Regions from separate parts of the Homo sapiens genome. Here regions 1, 2, 3, 4 and 6 are each linked to region 5. Evidence: promoter capture Hi-C in 16 types of primary human blood cells and fetal thymus (Javierre and others, 2016). All regions are on one chromosome and are shown on one strand. The core of a region is centred on a gene start or on the middle of the fragment in contact, and the rest is flanking DNA. Distances in the headings are between cores, read along the strand shown. Region 1 overlaps MYSM1 (Myb like, SWIRM and MPN domains 1). Region 2 holds the start of JUN (Jun proto-oncogene, AP-1 transcription factor subunit). Region 3 overlaps SERBP1 (SERPINE1 mRNA binding protein 1). Region 4 holds the start of OMA1 (OMA1 zinc metallopeptidase). Region 5 holds the start of USP1 (ubiquitin specific peptidase 1). Region 6 overlaps MIER1 (MIER1 transcriptional regulator).

Region 1 (3,112 bases), core at 87-2,586, 3.7 Mb before region 5:
CTATCATTTCAAATTCACTGTAGAAATCTTTTTATTCCTCAATAAGAAGAATCAGCAACACTCATACTCTGGTAGCTACTTCTGGATCTCTACCTGAATCTCCATAGGTACCACATATTAGCATGTTTAAAGCTTGAAATCACCTTTCCTCCCAAATCTGCTACTCTTCTATTGTTCACCATCTCACTCAGTGGCACCACCATCTCCGTAGTTATCCAAGCCAGAAATCCAAGCCTGACCATTTTCTTCACAACCCCCATTTAATCTGCCCTAATTCTGCTGTTTCTCCCATTTTCCAAATCCAGTCCTTCCAGTATTTTCATACTACCTCTGAGGTCCTGTAGTTTCCAATCTTATATAATTTTCCTGGATAAATGTAAAAGATAAAGCTGACAAACCATTCACCTCCCCTCCTTTATCTTTCTCCACCCATCTCCATCTGACATATATATAGGATTGCTGTCTATGTTATCTAACAAGAATGTTCTATGAGAGCACAGACTTGGTTTTGATACACTGTTGTATATCAGTGCATGGCATGTAGAAGGTACTCAATAAAAATTTGTTGGACTAAATGAACAAGGTAGGTAGGGCGTGGATCACTCAGATCTCTGGTAGTTAAAGAATGAGGATTTTATCAAAAAACCAACTGGGGAGTGAAGAGAATAATATGATCAGATCTGGATATAAGAAAGATTACTCTGACTTCAGACTAGAACAGAATGGGGCCAAGGAGACGAGGAGCAGTTAAGAGGGAGAGATTTTAAAAATACTAGAGAAAGGTGACAATAACTTATAGCTACAGGACAATGTGAACAGGAAGAAGTGAATACAGTTGAGAAGATATTTAGACAGAATCAACAGCCCTAAATAACTGATAGGGTAGAGGAGTAGAAGGAGGGAGGTAAGGAATGATGAAGTTTAGGTCTGTGCTTTGGGTGACTGGGTGTGTGTAGGTGCCATTTACTAAACTAGGGTACAGTGAAGAGATCTGGTGGGGAAAATTTATAAGGTGAAACTGAGGTGCTTGTGAGACATCCAGGTACAGATAGATTCAGAGAACTGGATAAATGGATCTGTCACTTAAGAGAGAGATCTGGGTTGGTAACAGATTCGGGAAACATCAGCTGGCAGGTCAAAAATGGTTTAACACTGGTAAAATTTCATATGGTTCAACCTAACAAAGAGAAGTTGAAGTCTTAAGAGGGACAGTGTGGTCAGTGAATCAAAGTCCAATGAGAAAACTCCTTGCAACACTAGGAGTAAAGAACATAAGAAAAGGAGAATGAGACAGAATGGTAGAAGTAGAAGAGAAACCAAAAAAAAATTTTTTTTTTTTTTTGAGATGGCGTTTTGCTCTTGTTGCCCAGGCTAGAGGGCAATGGCGCGATCTCGGCTCACTGCAACCTTCACCTCCCAGGGTCAAGCAATTCTCCTGCCTCAGCCTCCCTAGTAGCTGCAATTACAGGCAGGTGCCACCATGCCTGGCTAAGTTTGTATTTTTAGTAGAGACGGGGTTTCTCCATGTTGGTCAGGCTGATCTCGAACTCCCAACCTCAGGTGATCCGCCCGCCTTGGCCTCCCAAAGTGCTGGGATTACAGGCATGAGCCACCGCACCCAGCCAACCCAAAAGTTTCAATACCATCTTCTAACTTTGACATCTAGCACTTACCAAGTGCTTAAAAGTGTCTATTAAATTAATTCTCAACGGTTTCACAGATGCTATAATATCAACTGTAACTACATACTTCAGAGAGTACCATCACACTAAATTCCATACGGTTGGAGCTCCAACACCACTGGACACTATTTATCAGACTATATATATATATATATATTTTTTTTTTTTTTTTGAGACAGAGTCTCGCTCTGTTGCCCAGGCTGGAGTGCGGTGGCGTGATCTCCGCTCACTGCAAGCTCTGCCTCCCGGGTTCACGCCATTCTCCTGCCTCAGCCTCCCAAGTACCTGGGACTACAGGCGCCCACCACCACGCCCAGCTAATTTTTTGTATTTTTAGTAGAGATGGGGTTTCACCGTGTTAGCCAGGATGGTCTCGATCTCCTGACCTCGTGATCTGCCCGCCTCGGTCTCCCAAAGTGCTGGGATTACAGGCGTGAGCCACCATGCCTGGCCCAGAATATAATATTAATGATACTCCTTGGGGTTGTATAAGACAATAATTGTAACCATCATCAGGAACCAATAACCTTTGTAATCCTGCTTGTTACCACAAGTGCCACCAGTAGACCTAGGCCTCAACTAAAATAGGAAGAAAGAGAAAAGGGGAAAAATGAAACACAATCAGAAAGATAAATCTATGGAAGAAGCATACAGCCAATGCCCTCAGGTGACCAATCTTCAGTGTTTCCAAGGCCAGCTCATTTCTTTCTAGACTGCAGATAAGTATCCCTGCCAACCTATTTCATTAACTTGTTGCGAAAAGTAAATTAAATCAAACATGCAAAAGCACTTGGTCAAGATTTAAACACTAAATGAATGTCAACAAGTATTGTTATTAAGGGCTCCCTACTCATCTGCAAAGCTTTGAGGGACAATGACCATATGAGTTTAATCACCCCTCACGTCTTTATAGGGCTTTAGAGTTCATGATACACTTCTAAACACACTATCTTAGTGCCTCAAGCGCTGGGTTAGTACTTCTCCCCTGTTCACAGAGGCCCTAATATTAGGCTGAACTACATGAAGTTGCCGCTTTATAGAACAAAAATGGTCTAAATATTGGCAATTTCATATGGTTCAAGCTAATACAGTTCTAAGGAAATTGTACATAATTATAAACAACATAGCTGGCTGACTTTAGAACTCAGGCTTTCTGATTCCTGGCTAGTCTAGGACTCTTCATGACTAAAAGGAGACTCATTTTTGATTCAGAAAGCAAGGAGTCAAAGGAGGTTCTGTGTCAAATCACACTGGGCTGTTTGTTCTGCTGGAACAGGTATTTTAAAAAATGTGATCCCTTACTGGATTCTCACAGTACTGTCCCCGAGGGTAACAGGATGGTAAAGAATACATTCAGAGGGCACCTACCGTATGCTAAAGCATATCTCATAATCATTTCATTTGATCCTCCCAATTACATATCATGACTC
Region 2 (2,966 bases), core at 63-2,562, 3.7 Mb before region 5:
CTCGGCGAAGCCCTCCTGCTCATCTGTCACGTTCTTGGGGCACAGGAACTGGGTGGGGGTCGGCGTGGTGGTGATGTGCCCGTTGCTGGACTGGATTATCAGGCGCTCCAGCTCGGGCGACGCCAGCTTGAGCAGCCCCACGTCGGGCGAGGTGAGGAGGTCCGAGTTCTTGGCGCGGAGGTGCGGCTTCAGGCTCCCCACTGGGTCGGCCAGGTTCAGGGTCATGCTCTGTTTCAGGATCTTGGGGTTACTGTAGCCATAAGGTCCGCTCTCGGACGGGAGGAACGAGGCGTTGAGGGCATCGTCATAGAAGGTCGTTTCCATCTTTGCAGTCATAGAACAGTCCGTCACTTCACGTGAGGTTAGTTTGGGCTGCGCGCACAAGTTTCGGGGCCGCAACAGGGCTGTGGCAAGCGGGGGACACCCGCGCCCCCCGGAGCCTTTGACAGGGAAAGTTTCTCTAAGAGCGCACGCACCCGCTGGCTGTCGTCCCCGCTGCGCCCTCCTCACCAGCTCGCTCCAGGGAGCGCAGGGTTAATTAAGATGCCTCCCGCACTCTTACTTGTCGACTCGCGCGCGCTACCCGGCTTTGAAAAGTCGCGGTCACTCACTGAGCGCTCTTCGTGCGCAGCGGTTCCTCGGAGTCCGCAGGCGAACTCACTTCCCAGAGCAGCGGCTCTCCCCGCGGAGCGGATCAGTGCGGACCCTGCAGTGGCCGGCCGGCGGCGGGTCTTGGCCGCCCGGACTCCGACGACTTGTCCCCTCCTCCGCTGCTAGGGGGAGGGGGCGCCCGGCAGCCGCGGCTCGCGCTCGCCCAAGTTCAACAACCGGTGCGAGCGAAGCTGAGCGCACGTCCTTCTTCTCTTGCGTGGCTCTCCGCCGCCTTCTGGTCTTTACCGCCGTGGAGAAGCCTAAGACGCAGGAAAGGCTTGCAAAAGTTGGCTCCGGGACTCTGCCACTTGTCTCCGGTCCTCCCAGCCGGGAAAGTTCTTTGCTGCTGCAGCCGCTCGCCGACTTCCCCCGGCGGGCGCGTGGGTACCGCTGCTTTCCGCCGCTGTCAACAGCGCCTGGGCAGCAGGGCTCTCCTCCCGGGGGCGGCTGGAGACCAGGCTCTCTGGACACTCCCGAAACACCAGCCCGGGAGCCACAGGCGCTAGCTCTGGGCAGTTAGAGAGAAGGTGAAAAGAAAATAAGATTTGCAGTTCGGACTATACTGCCGACCTGGCTGGCTGGCTGTGTCTGTCTGTCTGCCTGACTCCGCGCACCTCCACTCCCGCCTCGCTGCTTCAGCCACACTCAGTGCAACTCTGAGCCCTTATCCAGCCCGAGCTCAACACTTATCTGCTACCAGTCAACCCCTAAAAATAGCCCATGATGTCACCCCAAGGCCTTCCCATTGGCTCGCGTCGCTCTCAGGGGGGCGGGCCCGCCCGTCACCATGGAGACTCCACCCTAGAAGATTCTTCTCTGGGCCCGCGGAGGCTCACGGGATGAGGTAATGCTCCGCTGCCCTCCTACAGTCGGGCCCTTCTTTCTCCTACCCTCCCCCCTGCCGCACGCCTCTCGGCCCTCTCTTCCCCGGTCCCCTCCCCGGGCCGTTTTTCCCGGCCCGCCCGGTGCATTGTGGGCTGACGTCTTGGGGTTTGACTGTCTAGTGACGGTGGCTGCCGCGAGCGGGCGGACGCTCGCAACCTCTGATGGAGGGGGGCTCAAGTTCACGGCTGCGGACGGGGATGCGGGGGATGCAGGGACCCGGGAGGCCAGGGAACCTGGCCAGTTGTTTTGGGCCAGGGGTGCGGGCGAGGGGTGGTTGTTGTTTCCCCACTTGTGGGGCCCGAAGTCATCCACCGGCGGCCGCCACCGCGCGGGGCTGGAGGCTGAGAATCCAAGTACGCTGCCACCCCCCCGCACTTCCGGGGGGGCGGGAATACCGCCCTTAAGGTGGCTCTGTGAAGTCCCAGGTGGGGGCGAGCCTAAGGGGACTTAAGTTTAGGGGCGGTCTCCCGAGAGTCGGCCCCCCACGTTGAGAACACTCCGAAGTTTGCATCTCGGTCAAGTTCAGGAGCGACGGTCCGCGGGGTCGTCTGGCTGCTCGTAGAAGCCGAGAGATTTGTATTGCCCGAAACTGGACGCTCAGCTGAGTCTCCGTTGCACCCCACTTCATCCTCCGGGACCGTGGGGGAAAGGGCGCGGGGGTTCACAGCTTTGCCTCGGAGGGGCAGTTTTTATAGTGGGCGCAATTGGTGGGTAACAGGGTCCAGATGGGAACAAGCGTGTAGGCGATCCGAAACTCGGGGAACCCCGGTGTTAGTCTACTCCCCCTCCCGCCCCCGGACAACACGCACACGCTTAACACAACACGCACAACATAACGCGCGCGCGCGCGCACACACACACTCCATCCGCGCCGAGTTGCTTCCGGGAAAACAAGCCCAGAAGGCGGCGGACACTCGCATAAAGTCACGCAGTAGTACTCGGAGCCCGGGGTAGAACCTGGACTTCAAATCTCTGCACTCCCGGCCGGGTGGTGGGCGCATATCCTGGGTAGCCTCTAGGAAGCGCTAGACACATGTAAGTGGTTCCTTTTCCGCGGTTATTTTATTCTCCCCCCGCCCCCCACCCCTTAGGGACGAAAGTGTGTGGTGGAAAGAATCCCGAAGTCGGGAATCCTGGTTCTTTCGTGGCCAGGCTACCACAGTGTGAAGCAAGCAAATCACGGAACTCCTCCGAGCTTCATTTCCCTCATCTGCAGGTGGGGCCGGTGCCGTCCACCTCACTGGGCTGCCAGGAGTTAGTGTGACAGGGTCGCCTGCAGCACTAGGGAGGTGGTGGCCAAACAGCCCGCTTCCCTCCCCTGCCTCGCAGTTTCCATCCTCGCAGAGCCTGGATAGGATGCCAGGATATAAGAGTGCGATTTGGCAGGACCAGGTGTACTTTCCTGTGAGAAGCATCGAGGGGAGGAGGGG
Region 3 (3,085 bases), core at 144-2,643, 5.0 Mb after region 5:
AACACACTCACTAGATATGGCCCCTCACAAAAGTGAGGGCCGCACTATGTTATTCTATCTAATCTGAAAAAAAAATGCAATTAAGACTCATAATTCTATAAAATTACAAATCTGAAAGGAAAATATGGCATTTAGGATTATTAGAGAACATCACTTCAGTTTAAAACAGCCATTTAACCAGAAAAAGTGTCATCTTTTGGTCTTCTTAGCTACAGGCACACAAAAAGGGCCATCTTCCCCTATTAAAGTTTAAAATTTTATAGCATGTAAGTGTATATATGTTTGTACACACTCCCACATCCCTAAGTACTTCCAAGTTAGGAAACAGTTACTTATTATGCATGGAGAGAGTCCTCTAAAAAATTTGCCCTAACAACTATCTTTATTTTCAAAGAATCTTTAAAAACCAAATACACACACGTTAAGACCGCTTTTAAGCAACATGTAAGAAATAAGAAAACTTGTGACACTAAGTGATAGCTGAAGCATTTACTAATTTCCCCCTTTACTACTTTTTTCCTGTAATGTCTGAAACCCCACAAAGGCAACCAATTTAAATTATTGGTGCCCATAAGGATCAACAGATTGATGGTTAAATTAATGACTTTAAGATTGTTGGTATGCTCTAATTCCCAATTTCTGACAAAGTCATAAAGCAGCTGAGGAATTGGTTTTACAAGATTTTAAGCTGCTTCACTTTGGTTCTTTCTAAGAAAGTAGAACACCATCAAGACACACCCAGTTGTTCTGCTGCCTGTTAACTGGAGCCAAACAGTAACTATCAATCTCTTCAATAGAATTTTGAAGTTCATTCCCTGTAAATACTCAAGATAGACTACAAATATTAGACCTTACACCAAGGTATTTAAATAAATGTCATCAGTAATAAAGTGCACTGGGGTGGAGTTATGGAACCAGTCCTTGCAATAATATCCAAGCCAAACACACCCAAGTGAACAATAGTTGGCGTCCCCACCCAATATCAAGTTTACAGAATCTTAAAAACGTATTAAACCTACCTAATGAAAAAGACTGACATTTAAAAATGCAAGCTTCTTTTGATATACTTATCTATAACTTGCAAGCTCACTAACTGCACTAGTTTCAAGGCATTCATTCTTTTTTAGAAAATCCCTGGTCTACACTCTCAATGACATTCTGCTGTCAATTCTCAAGTTCTTCAAATGGGCAAGAGAATGTACAAAATTAATTCATAAAACATAAACATTAAATATCTGTCTAAAGTATGTCAAGTATTATGTCACAATGTGTTATCAAAATCACAGAACACAATCAGGTTAACCTTCCTACTACATGCAGCGACTTTGTTTACAGATTTATTCCCAGTAATCAGGACAGTAGAATCTCAAAACGGGTATTGTCCATTCAACACTTTTCCTGTATTTTACATGCTTGTATTTTATGCAACTTAACAGTAGTGCTCTGAAATACTGACCTAAGGAAAATGCTGATTGCTAACATGGAATAGTTTTCCCATGGAAAGACTCATTGAACGGTGAACCTAAGTCTTGGTTCTAACTTCATGAAATCATTCCCCACATTTGTTAACTTAAAATACTACTTTTCAGGTAAGAGCTTATTTCATAGATGGGCTTCATGATCAAAATAACTCAGGCATTTAAACCATGCTTCATGTTTTGAACATTCAAAATGAGTGAACACATCTACCTGGTACACATTATTCGTCAGATTCAACTTTTTCGTGTACTTTCTTAAGCTTAAGCATAGTTTAAATAATTACACAAGTCAGCGTTACTTAACACACGAATTAAATGATTTATTTAATTGTGCTAGATTGCCATAAAGCTTAACTGGCTGAAGAGATACTTGGCCTAAGTGATATACATGCTTTCTAATACTCCAACTGTATTTTTCCTCAACCTATAATTTTACCACAAGAATTAATTATTTTCTTTTATTCACCACCTAGGACCGAGGTTCTTCATTCCGAGCCTCACAAAAGTCCTCAAAAAAAAAAAAAAAAACCCTCCTAAAACAAATCCTACCACGAGAAAATTGTTTTGATTTTTAAAATTAGTTCACTGTTACAGAATTCAACTAAAGCTAAAGAGAAACAACTCCTTTCAGAGAAGCACGTGGCAGGAAGGGGTAATTTCAACTTTCAACATATAAATGCAGCTTTAAAGATTCAGACCTTAGGTCCAACACCTGCTTGCTATTGATCATGCACGTTCTTATCTCCAAACTGCTTGCTCTTTTTTTTCATCCGCAACAAACTGGTAAAGCGAATGCAAAAATCAAGACAATCCTGTGAAACTCACAGTGCCCTAGAAACAACTATTAACCGCCAGTGAAACTCTGACCATGCTTCACGCACATGTGGTGGAAAAAAAAAACTGCGAACTCTAAAGAGCTCTGCTGCGACTAACGCTGTGACAGCCTCTGCACTCACTTCACCCACGAGGCCCAGACCCCACCACGTGAAAGATTCAGTTTGGGGAGTCGAGAGAGAGGATCGTGACTCGAGGACGTTCCTCGGGATGTCCTGCAATCACCAGTCTTCATTCATAATTCCCGCTCCTGGTTAATCGAGTGTGGCCAAACTCCTCCATTTCCCAACGGCTCAACTCACCCCAGCAAGTTATGAGAAAGTCCTAACAGTTGAGAGGTGGAAGAGAAACAAATAAAGGACATGCGGCACCCCAACCTGCAGCTTACTCCACACGTCTGATGGCCTGGAACGACCCCCTGCTTTTCAGCGGGGATACTCCGCGCCGTCGTGGGACAAGACGGCAGGACAGGAGCCTGAAACAACAGCACCTCAAAGGAGCAGCTCTGCGCAGTAAGCAGCGATGGACCCCCAAGCTCCTCCGTAACTACGGAAAGCTTCGGTGAGGGGCCGGCTTCCCCGCACCTCAGTCCATGCGCTCACCCGCCAAGGAATCCGGCGGGAAGGCAACAGCCTCCCAGGACCTCGAGCGCGCTCGAGGAGCAGCTCATCTCCGACCACGCTCCTCTGCTCACAACCTGAGGCGGGAAGGGGATGGCTCCGAGAACCTCGCCGGCGGTGGCTTGAACTTGGGGCTACCACGCTCCTGGCACC
Region 4 (2,992 bases), core at 258-2,757, 3.9 Mb before region 5:
TGCTTAGCTCTGCACATGACAAGCAAACTCCTTCTCATTTCTCATGACTTGTGTAAAAATTTTAAAAGAATCCTATTGACACAGAAGGTATAAGCAAAAGCCCCAACACTACGCATATATAATTAAAACCATTATCATTTCTATCACTGACAACCAAGTGTCGTTTTGAATAGAAACAGTGCCTGATATTTTGTAATACCCGGTTTATCCTGAAGAAAGGGTAAAGAATGAGGGAAGAAATCTATTCATGCATTTTCAAGGAGCCAATCACTAGACTACAGAGCACATAAGAAAAAAAAAAATCAGGGCTGACATATTCTCTTCAAAGAGCTGTGGCAGGTCAACAAACATAGCTGGCAGACTTCTAGGATAACAAAATTAATGATGTGAGAAAATTAAACAATTTGGATTGTTAGCCTCTACGAACATTTCAGATCCTTAATTCTTTAAGTACCATCTCCGAATGAGCAAGTGCAGCACTCACTGGCACTCACAGCTGAAGCCTGGAAGACAGTTTTAACAACTCTTGCTGAAAATGACTATTTCTTCTCTAGTTTCTATGGAAACAGCTGTCAGATTGGCAAAAATAGGACATGTACTTTAAAATAATCATTCAAGCAAAGTACACACATGATGGAAGGCTTTAAAAAAGAATTGGACGGCAGCAGACTTGGTTCTTAAGCTTCCAAATGTCAGACTACACCCCTTCACCCCGGCTGAGAATGACGGAGATGAACCTAAATCCTTTTAGCGAGGGTTGCACGACCTTGATCAACGCCTGAATGCCAAATAAGGGATTTTCATCTCCCTGGACTACAATTTCTTGTTGAGGATTGCACGGCACAATAAAACTGTTGCTCCACACACAGGCGACATTTAAACAGTATACAGTGAGTTCTGTAGACGAGTTTACGAGGAAATTGTTAAAACTCCCCGGAACTGCTTAGACGGGGAATGTTCTGGTTTGCCCTGCCGAGTTTAGGCTGGAAAACGTGTTCAGTTTCTCCTGAAGAGGGAAGGGGTGAAAGAGACGAATGCCCGACGCGCCGGGAGGCGGTCCCCTCTGGCAGAGGTGCCGGGTGAGGAGCCCGAAGCCCCGCGGGTGAGAAACCCTGCTCTGAAAGCGGAGCCGCGGATAAGGGCGGGCTGAGGGGGAGGGCAGGCGGCCCACGAAAGTACTGCCACGGGGCAGACACACGGGGTCACCGGCGTGCCCCGGGCAAGGCTAGGGGAGAACCGGGCTCCCCCAGGACAGATCCCCTCCGTCTCCCGCCCCGGCGCCCCCCGCCCCTCCCCTCCACGCAGCCTTATCGCCCACCCACGCCTCCTCCCGTACCCCCATCCCCAAGGATCCCCACTCCTTGCCCGGGCGCCCCCGCAGGCGCTCTGCGCTCCGCCCCCTCCCCACTGCCGCACTCTGCCTCCTCCCCTGGGCACGATCCTACTCGGAAAAGCTGGGGAAAAGCGTCACCGTGAGGACTGACTCAAGCAGAAGCGAAAGCGGTGACACCGCAGACCCGACCTATGCGCAGGCGCGCACCCGCACTTCCTGCCCGCCATACCGGCCGGGGCGCCCTTCGCTCCGCCCACACCCGGCAGTCAATACAGCCGCCCAGAGTCGTTCTCCCAGCTGCCCCGGGCCCCGCGGAGACTGTGGCGCTCTAGCGCCTCCGTGTGGCTTAAGGCGGGACATGGCCCTGGGCTGGGCTGCTTGCCTAGGAACAACTTTCTCCCGTCTTTGGTGAGTTGGGTCCTCTAAAGAATGATCCACGCAAGGCTGTGTCCGTTGTAGTCTCTACGGCAGTACCGGCCAAAAGGGAAGAGACTCGAAGACTGCCAAAAGACGAAGGCTTCCTGGTTCTGAATCTGCATTCATAGAAATAGTCTTTGGAGTATGGGAACAGTGCTTTCATATGATTTTTGGAGGGACGCATTTTAAGAAAGATGAAGTATAATCTTAAGTGTCTGGAGGTTAAAGTAGCTGGCTCCAAAATTATGTGTATAGTATGTTTCATTCATTTCACCAAAACATATTTCTTGAGCATCAACTACATTTTAAGTGCCAAGGATGTAGCAGTGAACAAGACAGACCTGAATTTCGTGAACTTTATATCACAGTGAGGAAAGACAGGCGATTAAAAAAAAGTGTACAAATAAACACAAATAAATAAAAGTGTACAAATAAGCCAGTACAAATAAACACTGGATTGTGATGGATGAGTAGTGAGGTCTCATATTAGTTTATTATGTTTACACTCTGTGCACAATGAAAACATCTCAAAGGACATAAACACTATGTCAAAGGACATAAACACTATGAACAATTTTAGGTATCTCTTTTGGAAAATGTGTAAGTTACTGTTTCGTTTATCTTATGTGTATTTTATGATTTGCCTTTTACTTTGAAAGGGATATCCTGGAAAACCCCTGACAACTGGACCCCTAAAAACTGAAGTAGGAGGTCCTTCAGTCTTCGTAGGGTTTATCTCCCAAACTCTGGAGTGCACATGTCTTACCAAAGTTTCCAGCATGCTAGCCACCTCTTGCTCATCTTGCCTGGTTAGCATAATGTCATTGGTGAAATAGATGGGTGTGATGTTCTCTGGAATTTCCAGTTGATCCAGCTCCTTTTGGACTGCGCAGAGCCATTATGTCATTATCCTGGGTCCACCTGATTTCCAAAGGGGCCAGACTGGCAAGTTAAGTAGAGATATGGCAGGGATGACCAACCACTCTTGTATATTTCAGGTCTTTAATTATGACATTAATCTCCACCATCATCTCACTATCCCCTCAGATGAAATATCGGTTTTGATTTATTATCTTCACTTGGAAAGAAGGACAGCTTCAGAGGCTTCCCATTGGCTTTCCCCACCATGATAACTCAAGACCAAGGACCCTGAGCTTCTTACCAATGTGGAGATTGCTCCAGCTGCCCAATATGTACTCCCAATTATGCACTCAGGAACTAAGAAAATGACTACTGGATGGG
Region 5 (2,796 bases), core at 152-2,651:
TTTTTCATTCAGCTCTGCTCAAATGTCAACTCAAAGAGGTCTTTCCAGGCTATCGTATCTATCACTTATCTTAGCGTCACTTGTATCTCCCTCTCCAGAATGTAATGCTCCTTTATGACAGGGAATGCCTTTACATCCCTCGCGCCTTGAAAAATGCCTGGCACATAGTAGGCACCTTAAAAATACTTGATTAAATGGATTTGGGCTGAACGTATCCTGCTTAACTGCAGCACTTGAGCTGAGGTCACCTCACCAAAGCAGGCACACAAACACAAAAGGAAGCACACAACCAGATGAGGCCTGCCTGCCGCTCCTGAACCCTTTGGGAGGGCTCGCGCGGGAACCCTGGGAAGCTCCCGCGGCCGGAGCTGGGCCTGAAACTGTTCTTTCGTTTCCTCCTGCGGCCGAGAAAGGGAAGAGGTAAACAGGCGAAAATGAGGCGAGCAGGGGCTGAGGACCGGGCCTCAGCTCTACAGCATTCGCCTGAGCATGTATTGTTATCCGTGGCAGCGCCTTGTCTCATTGGATGGCCCTAGGCCTAGTGTGGCCGCGACTCCGAACTGAAAGCCCAAGCGCGGCGGCGTCCAGCCGGGCAGCCATTTTCCGAAGCTGCTCTCTTGGTAACCCCGCCCGGGCGCGTACGCACGAACGGAGGCGGGGCTTACCGCGAGGGCCTCGCTCCGGAAGCCGCACCCTCCGCGGCGTCCCACCGTCGAGGATTAACAAAACGCCAAACAAGATTTTAACAGTCGGCAGCGAAAGCGCGCACTCGAGCGCCAATGAGAGCGGAAGGAGGGGCACCGCGCCTGAGGAACACTCCGTATGTCGAACAATGATTGGCTGGAGCCCACCTTTCTTCTTTTTTGCTATTAGATGGGCTTGCTGCTCCCGCCCATCTAATTGGCTTTGGTCTAGGTACTTCTGATTGGCTTCCCCCGGGCGGTGGGAGGCGCGGTTTTGGGGATTGTTCATCATGGATTGGTGAATTTGGGCTCCTTCTCGAGGTGGTGGCCCATCCCGTCTGCTCTCTGTCCCGTCTCCCGACCCGTACGCTTTTCCCTCAACTCGCGCGCACGAATGGTTAAAAAAAGGGTGTGAGGCTCGAGCCCGCCAGCCAGGCCGCTAGCACCTCGCGCGCGCCCTCAGCGAGGACCCGCACGAGCTGCCCGGCTCTGTGCCTGCGTTGTTTGAAACTGTGGAACCCGTTAGGCTTTTGGGGAACTACAGTCCCAGCTGGCTCCGGAGCCCGTGCGTGCCAGGGGCGAGTGGCCGTCGCGAGACGGCTCCTGCCTTTCGTGTCTCTGCAGCGTGGAGACTGGAACCGGCAATTTCAAAGGACGCCACGTTCAATCGCAGCGCTGGCGCGGGCGGAGGCTAAAACACGGGGGTCCTGAGACTGAGGAAAACGCGCCAAGTTCCCCTCGGTGGCGGAGTGCTAAAGACCCTAGCGGTTCAGGCGTTCGGCGAGCGGGGCCGCTGCTTGTTGCGCTCCTGGCTCTCCCGGGGCGGGCGCAGATGGGCGCCGCTCCCGGGATGTAGTTGGTGTTGGTGCAAGACGGGAGCGAGCGGCGGTCGGGGTTCCCGCTCTTGGGAGCGGATGGTCACTCCCCCGCGGGGAGGGCGAGCCGACCAGATTTTCCTGGGGCCGGGGACCCGGCGGGCTCGGGGCAGGGACTCACCTGTCGCACCCACACTCATTCGGGTTGGACTTGCCGGCGTCACCGCCGCGGACTTCGCTTTGGGCCATGACCAGGTAAGGAGGGCCTGGGAGGAGGGGCCGGCTCCCGGGCGCGGGGGCAAGTTCGGCCGGCGCGGGAGAGGAGCTGCCGGGGAGACCCCGGGACCGTGTTGGCCTCGCACCCTGGTCGACCTGCCAGGGGGAGCCGTGTGTGCCTCGGGCGTGGCGCCTGTCTTGCCGCCGCCGGGACGCGAGAAGGCAGGTGCGGGCTGGGCGTAAATAGGCCAACTCCGCGGCGAGGGCGCCCGGCGCGGGGGTGTGGGCCGAGGACGCCGCCGCCAGCCTCCCCCGACCGGGCAGCCTGGTCGCTGCTCGTCCTTCCAGCTTTCTTTCCGTTCCCGAGAGCGGTGAAGGATGGGGAGAAAGAAACGTTTCCACGCAGGTTGCCCTGTGTCGGTAATTGCGAAATTTTACCGCGCATTTTCTTTCACTTACACTTTTTCAAGAAGTGTTTAGAACGCCGCGTGTCTTAAACCTTGGCGAAGATGTCCTTGTAGATTTTTGTTGAAAAATCGGAATCGAGTCGTGTCATCTTATAAAGAATTTAAAACTATTGGGACTGAGTGTTCACGCTGTCAACAGATAATGGTCGATTCGTCGTGCTTTCTGCGAAAGTTGATTTAGTTACAGGAGAAATATTTTGGATGTAACAGCCCCCCAGTTACAAGGAAAGCCAGGAGCAAGAAATAGCAAGGAAGATACTGCACCTGGCAAAATGTTACATTCTCGGTGTGAGCTTTGCTTTGAGGGGCTAGGAGGTTTGGTTTTTTGATTAAGCTGACGATCCGCTATTTCACCTGCCTAATCATTCTTCCCTTCTGTGTAGTCTGGTTACTCTGTCGGTTTGAGATCCAGTTTCTGTCATCCATTAAATTGGCTCTCGAGAAAAACCTTTTATCAGAATCATTAATGCTTGGCGATCCCTGAGAACTTAGCGCAGGTTGGTTTATCATTCAGAAGACAGCGCTTCCTCAGAAGCATTAGGTAGACAGGAGAGTAAGTGAAGTTGGAGACAGAATGGAGAGATGGATCAGCTTTCCAGTGCTTCCTGATTTGGG
Region 6 (2,867 bases), core at 144-2,643, 4.5 Mb after region 5:
TTTGGCAATATTTCTCATTGCTTATTATCCCTTAAAATTATTTACCAACCTTCTAAAAGGACGCTCTCCTAGTCACACTTGAAGGAAATTACAGGATAGTTGCAGTTTTACTAACTGCAAAAATAAGAGGAAAATGAGAGAAAAAATGAGAGGAAGAAATAGTTAATCCTTTGGGTTTTATAAGGAATGTACTAGGGACCTTTGGGAACGAACAATTTGTCTTGTATTTTAGCGTTTGTAAACACGTAAGGGACTTTCTTCTCAAGGAAAAAAATCCATGGACAATTCAAGACCTGTCTTTTCACCTAGGCCACATTTCTGTGATATAAAGAGAAAATTAATGGATTTGCTTCTTTCTATTTAAGTATTTTAGTACTTTCAAAGAGGGTATATAATCTGTTTATTCACTTTCACACCTATCCATTTCTCTTTAAAATGGACTCCTTGCTTAGTATTTTTTGAGTGTATTTGGATTTTTTTAACGAAGGATTATGTTAAATGTTACTTATGAAAACATTAATTTCTACTCTAAGCAAAATGTGTTTCACTGCAGTGAATTTAAGCTTCAAATAATTCTCGACACTAATAATGAATTTTTTTTCATGTTTATACTTCAGAGCTATTAAGATTTTAAAAGTAGTCAAGATCACCAGTGCGTGAGAGTCCTAAAAATCTTAATTCATTGGCAGTTAAGAGTTAGGGTACTTTAATAGGTGGGAAAGGTTTGGTGGGAGAAACAAGTGAATTACTTTAAGATAATTCTGGTAAGTGAGACTAACCAGTTTTCTAAATAATTCAGAAATAAAACACTGCCATTGAAGCTTAAGCATGTCTTTATGAAAAGTAATCAGCTATCTAGAAATGCCTGCCTGGCTTGATGTTCATTCAAAATTCATTGCAGTGATTAAATTGTTCAAGTACCAGTCATTGCTTGGGGCTTGTTCTGTTTGTCTTATTCTGTGGCTTAGAACAATAACTTATTATGTAGGTATGAAATTCATGAAGTAGCACCCCAAAAAATTGTTTTTGCAAATTGAGATTTTTTTAACAGTCCTAGATTTAAAAAAATAAATTTAAACATATCCCATGCATTTAGCTGCATACTCCTTAGTAGTGTTAGGTTTCTAGAGCAATTTATAATAAAAGTAAAGTTAGGTCTTGAAGAAATCTAAATCTTTTGATCATAGAGAAAATGAAAGTGAGCAGAGAGTTTACGTAGTTTGTCCTAGGTCGTGCAATTCATCTATGGCACAGTTTAGACTGGAACCCAGCCTTCTGTATTCCTAGATTCCTAGTGCTTATTTTCTTTTTCTTTCTTTCTTTTTTTTTTTTTTTTGAGACAGGGTCTCTCTCTGTTGCCCAGGCTGGAGTGCAGTGGCGCAAATCATAGCTCACTACAACCTCAAACTCCTGGGCTCAGGTGATCAATCCTTCCCTCAGAGCCTCTCAAGTAGCTGGGACTATAGGCATGTGCCATCATGCCCGGCTTTTTTTTTTTTTTGTGGAGACAGGGTCTCGATATGTTGATCAGACTGGTCTCGAGCTTCTGGCCTTAAGTGATCCTCCTGTCTTGTGCTGGGATTATAGGCGTGTGCCACTGTTCCCAGTCCTTATTTTCTATGATATCATTTTACTTCTGAATTATTAATACTGTAGTAAATTGCTAATTTTAATTTCAGTACATTCTTAACCTTTTTATACCCCAGAATTCCTGAGAGTAATAACAAAGTTAAGTAACTTAATTTTATTGGAGGAGAGGGATGGTGAGCCAGCCCTTGGCACGGTAACCATCTTTCACCCTAAAGTAGGACCCCTCTTTCCAGGCTTCTATCCCCATCTCCATTGCTGTGAGAATCTCTGACTTAGAGTCTACATAACTAAGTAGATGACGGCAATACTTAAAAGAAATGGTGGTAGAATTGTTTTGAGGGGAAAAATTTGTTCAGACGGTAATACTCATTGCAAATAAGCTTTTGATTGCCTGGAATAAAAAAATCTAGTAATTACTTCATGTTTTTACTATGTTGTTGTTAGGGTTTTTTTGGTGAAAATAATGGTAATGTTGTAGTTAGTTATTTCTTTACTCTCTCTCAAATTATAGTCTTCTGTTGTATGGGACATTTCCCACCATGTTCTAGAAAAATATAAAAGAGAATTATTTCAGCAAATCTGAGGCATTGAATATTCGTTACAACTATTAGCAATTTTATCAACTAAATCATACAAATATGTGGGTGAGGGTCAACTTGCTATAAAAGTTGCTAGAGTTTGTTTTTAATTTGTTTTAGCCCATTCATACTCTGTGTACAGTCTTTCTGTCTCTCTAGTGTTGTTTTCCATCTCAGATAAGATAAATATGTACCCCCTAAAACACTGAATTTTTCAAAATTACAGCTTAAAAAATAGTAACAAGTACTAGGTTTTCTTAAAAATCAAAATTTAGAGGAAGAAAATGAAAATGTCTCATAATTCCACAAGATAATCAGTTCCCAGTGACTTTCATTTTAAGAAAGAATGCATAGTACATGAAAGTGGTTAGAAAATTTCAACAGTACAGAAAGGTATTAAATGAAAAAAGCCTCTTCTCCCTGACCCCATTCCCTAGAGGTAACTATTGTTAACAGGTTCTTGTATGTCCTTTTGAGGAAAAAAAATTTATTCCATATTATTTCATATTCCAGCCCAGTTTACGCCCTGTTCTACAGTTTTCTTTATACTCCTAATTTTTTTTGGCATTTATTTCTCTATCAACACAAACAGATATCTCTATTTTTAATGGAGTCATAGTGTTCTATTGTTTGGAAGAACTATGTATGGAAGAACTATGTATCATTTCTAATCAGCTAATGCATGGACTTTAAATGTTT

What was found. Contacts are between HindIII fragments. The CHiCAGO score rates a contact against its expected background, and 5 or more counts as called.
Region 1: a fragment that was not itself captured here is called in contact with the fragment with the promoter of USP1 in region 5 in 2 of 17 cell types (naive CD4 T cells and total CD8 T cells); the score reaches 6.5 in naive CD4 T cells.
Region 2: a contact is called between the fragment with the promoter of JUN here and the fragment with the promoter of USP1 in region 5, in 1 of 17 cell types (total CD8 T cells). The highest score is 6.4, in total CD8 T cells.
Region 3: a contact is called between a fragment that was not itself captured here and the fragment with the promoter of USP1 in region 5, in 8 of 17 cell types (non-activated CD4 T cells, naive CD4 T cells, total CD4 T cells and 5 more). The highest score is 8.1, in non-activated CD4 T cells.
Region 4: the fragment with the promoter of OMA1 here is called in contact with the fragment with the promoter of USP1 in region 5 in 1 of 17 cell types (total B cells); the score reaches 6.1 in total B cells.
Region 6: a fragment that was not itself captured here is called in contact with the fragment with the promoter of USP1 in region 5 in 2 of 17 cell types (fetal thymus and neutrophils); the score reaches 8.2 in fetal thymus.

The regions. Positions count from the first base shown.
Region 1 is chr1:58,696,265-58,699,376 of GRCh38, forward strand. The region is part of intron 1 of MYSM1 (Myb like, SWIRM and MPN domains 1); the gene reads right to left. Among named protein-coding and RNA genes, the nearest start is that of MYSM1, 2.2 kb to the right of the region's middle. The HindIII fragment of the contact is 2,412 bases long and covers 131-2,542 here.
Region 2 is chr1:58,782,735-58,785,700 of GRCh38, forward strand. It overlaps JUN (Jun proto-oncogene, AP-1 transcription factor subunit), which reads right to left and starts at 1,313. Exons shown (of 1, transcript NM_002228.4): 1 at 1-1,313. The coding sequence starts at 336. It overlaps JUN-DT (JUN divergent transcript), which reads left to right and starts at 2,417. Exons shown (of 2, transcript NR_108106.1): 1 at 2,417-2,571. RefSeq lists enhancers at 1,011-1,758, 1,273-1,532, 1,759-2,504. The HindIII fragment of the contact is 7,855 bases long and covers 1-2,966 here.
Region 3 is chr1:67,426,747-67,429,831 of GRCh38, forward strand. All of the region lies in intron 1 of SERBP1 (SERPINE1 mRNA binding protein 1), which reads right to left. Among named protein-coding and RNA genes, the nearest start is that of SERBP1, 2.1 kb to the right of the region's middle. RefSeq lists an enhancer at 2,193-2,829. The HindIII fragment of the contact is 686 bases long and covers 1,051-1,736 here.
Region 4 is chr1:58,545,219-58,548,210 of GRCh38, forward strand. It overlaps OMA1 (OMA1 zinc metallopeptidase), which reads right to left and starts at 1,508. Exons shown (of 9, transcript NM_145243.5): 1 at 1,485-1,508. It also overlaps a transcript of DAB1 not described here. RefSeq lists enhancers at 917-1,543, 1,757-1,946 and silencers at 1,157-1,246, 1,257-1,356. The HindIII fragment of the contact is 5,811 bases long and covers 681-2,992 here.
Region 5 is chr1:62,435,648-62,438,443 of GRCh38, forward strand. It overlaps USP1 (ubiquitin specific peptidase 1), which reads left to right and starts at 1,402. Exons shown (of 9, transcript NM_003368.5): 1 at 1,402-1,753. RefSeq lists enhancers at 1-636, 319-668, 637-1,404, 1,229-1,298 and a silencer at 1,999-2,058. The HindIII fragment of the contact is 3,360 bases long and covers 1-2,796 here.
Region 6 is chr1:66,933,086-66,935,952 of GRCh38, forward strand. All of the region lies in intron 2 of MIER1 (MIER1 transcriptional regulator), which reads left to right. Among named protein-coding and RNA genes, the nearest start is that of MIER1, 9.5 kb to the left of the region's middle. The HindIII fragment of the contact is 1,149 bases long and covers 820-1,968 here.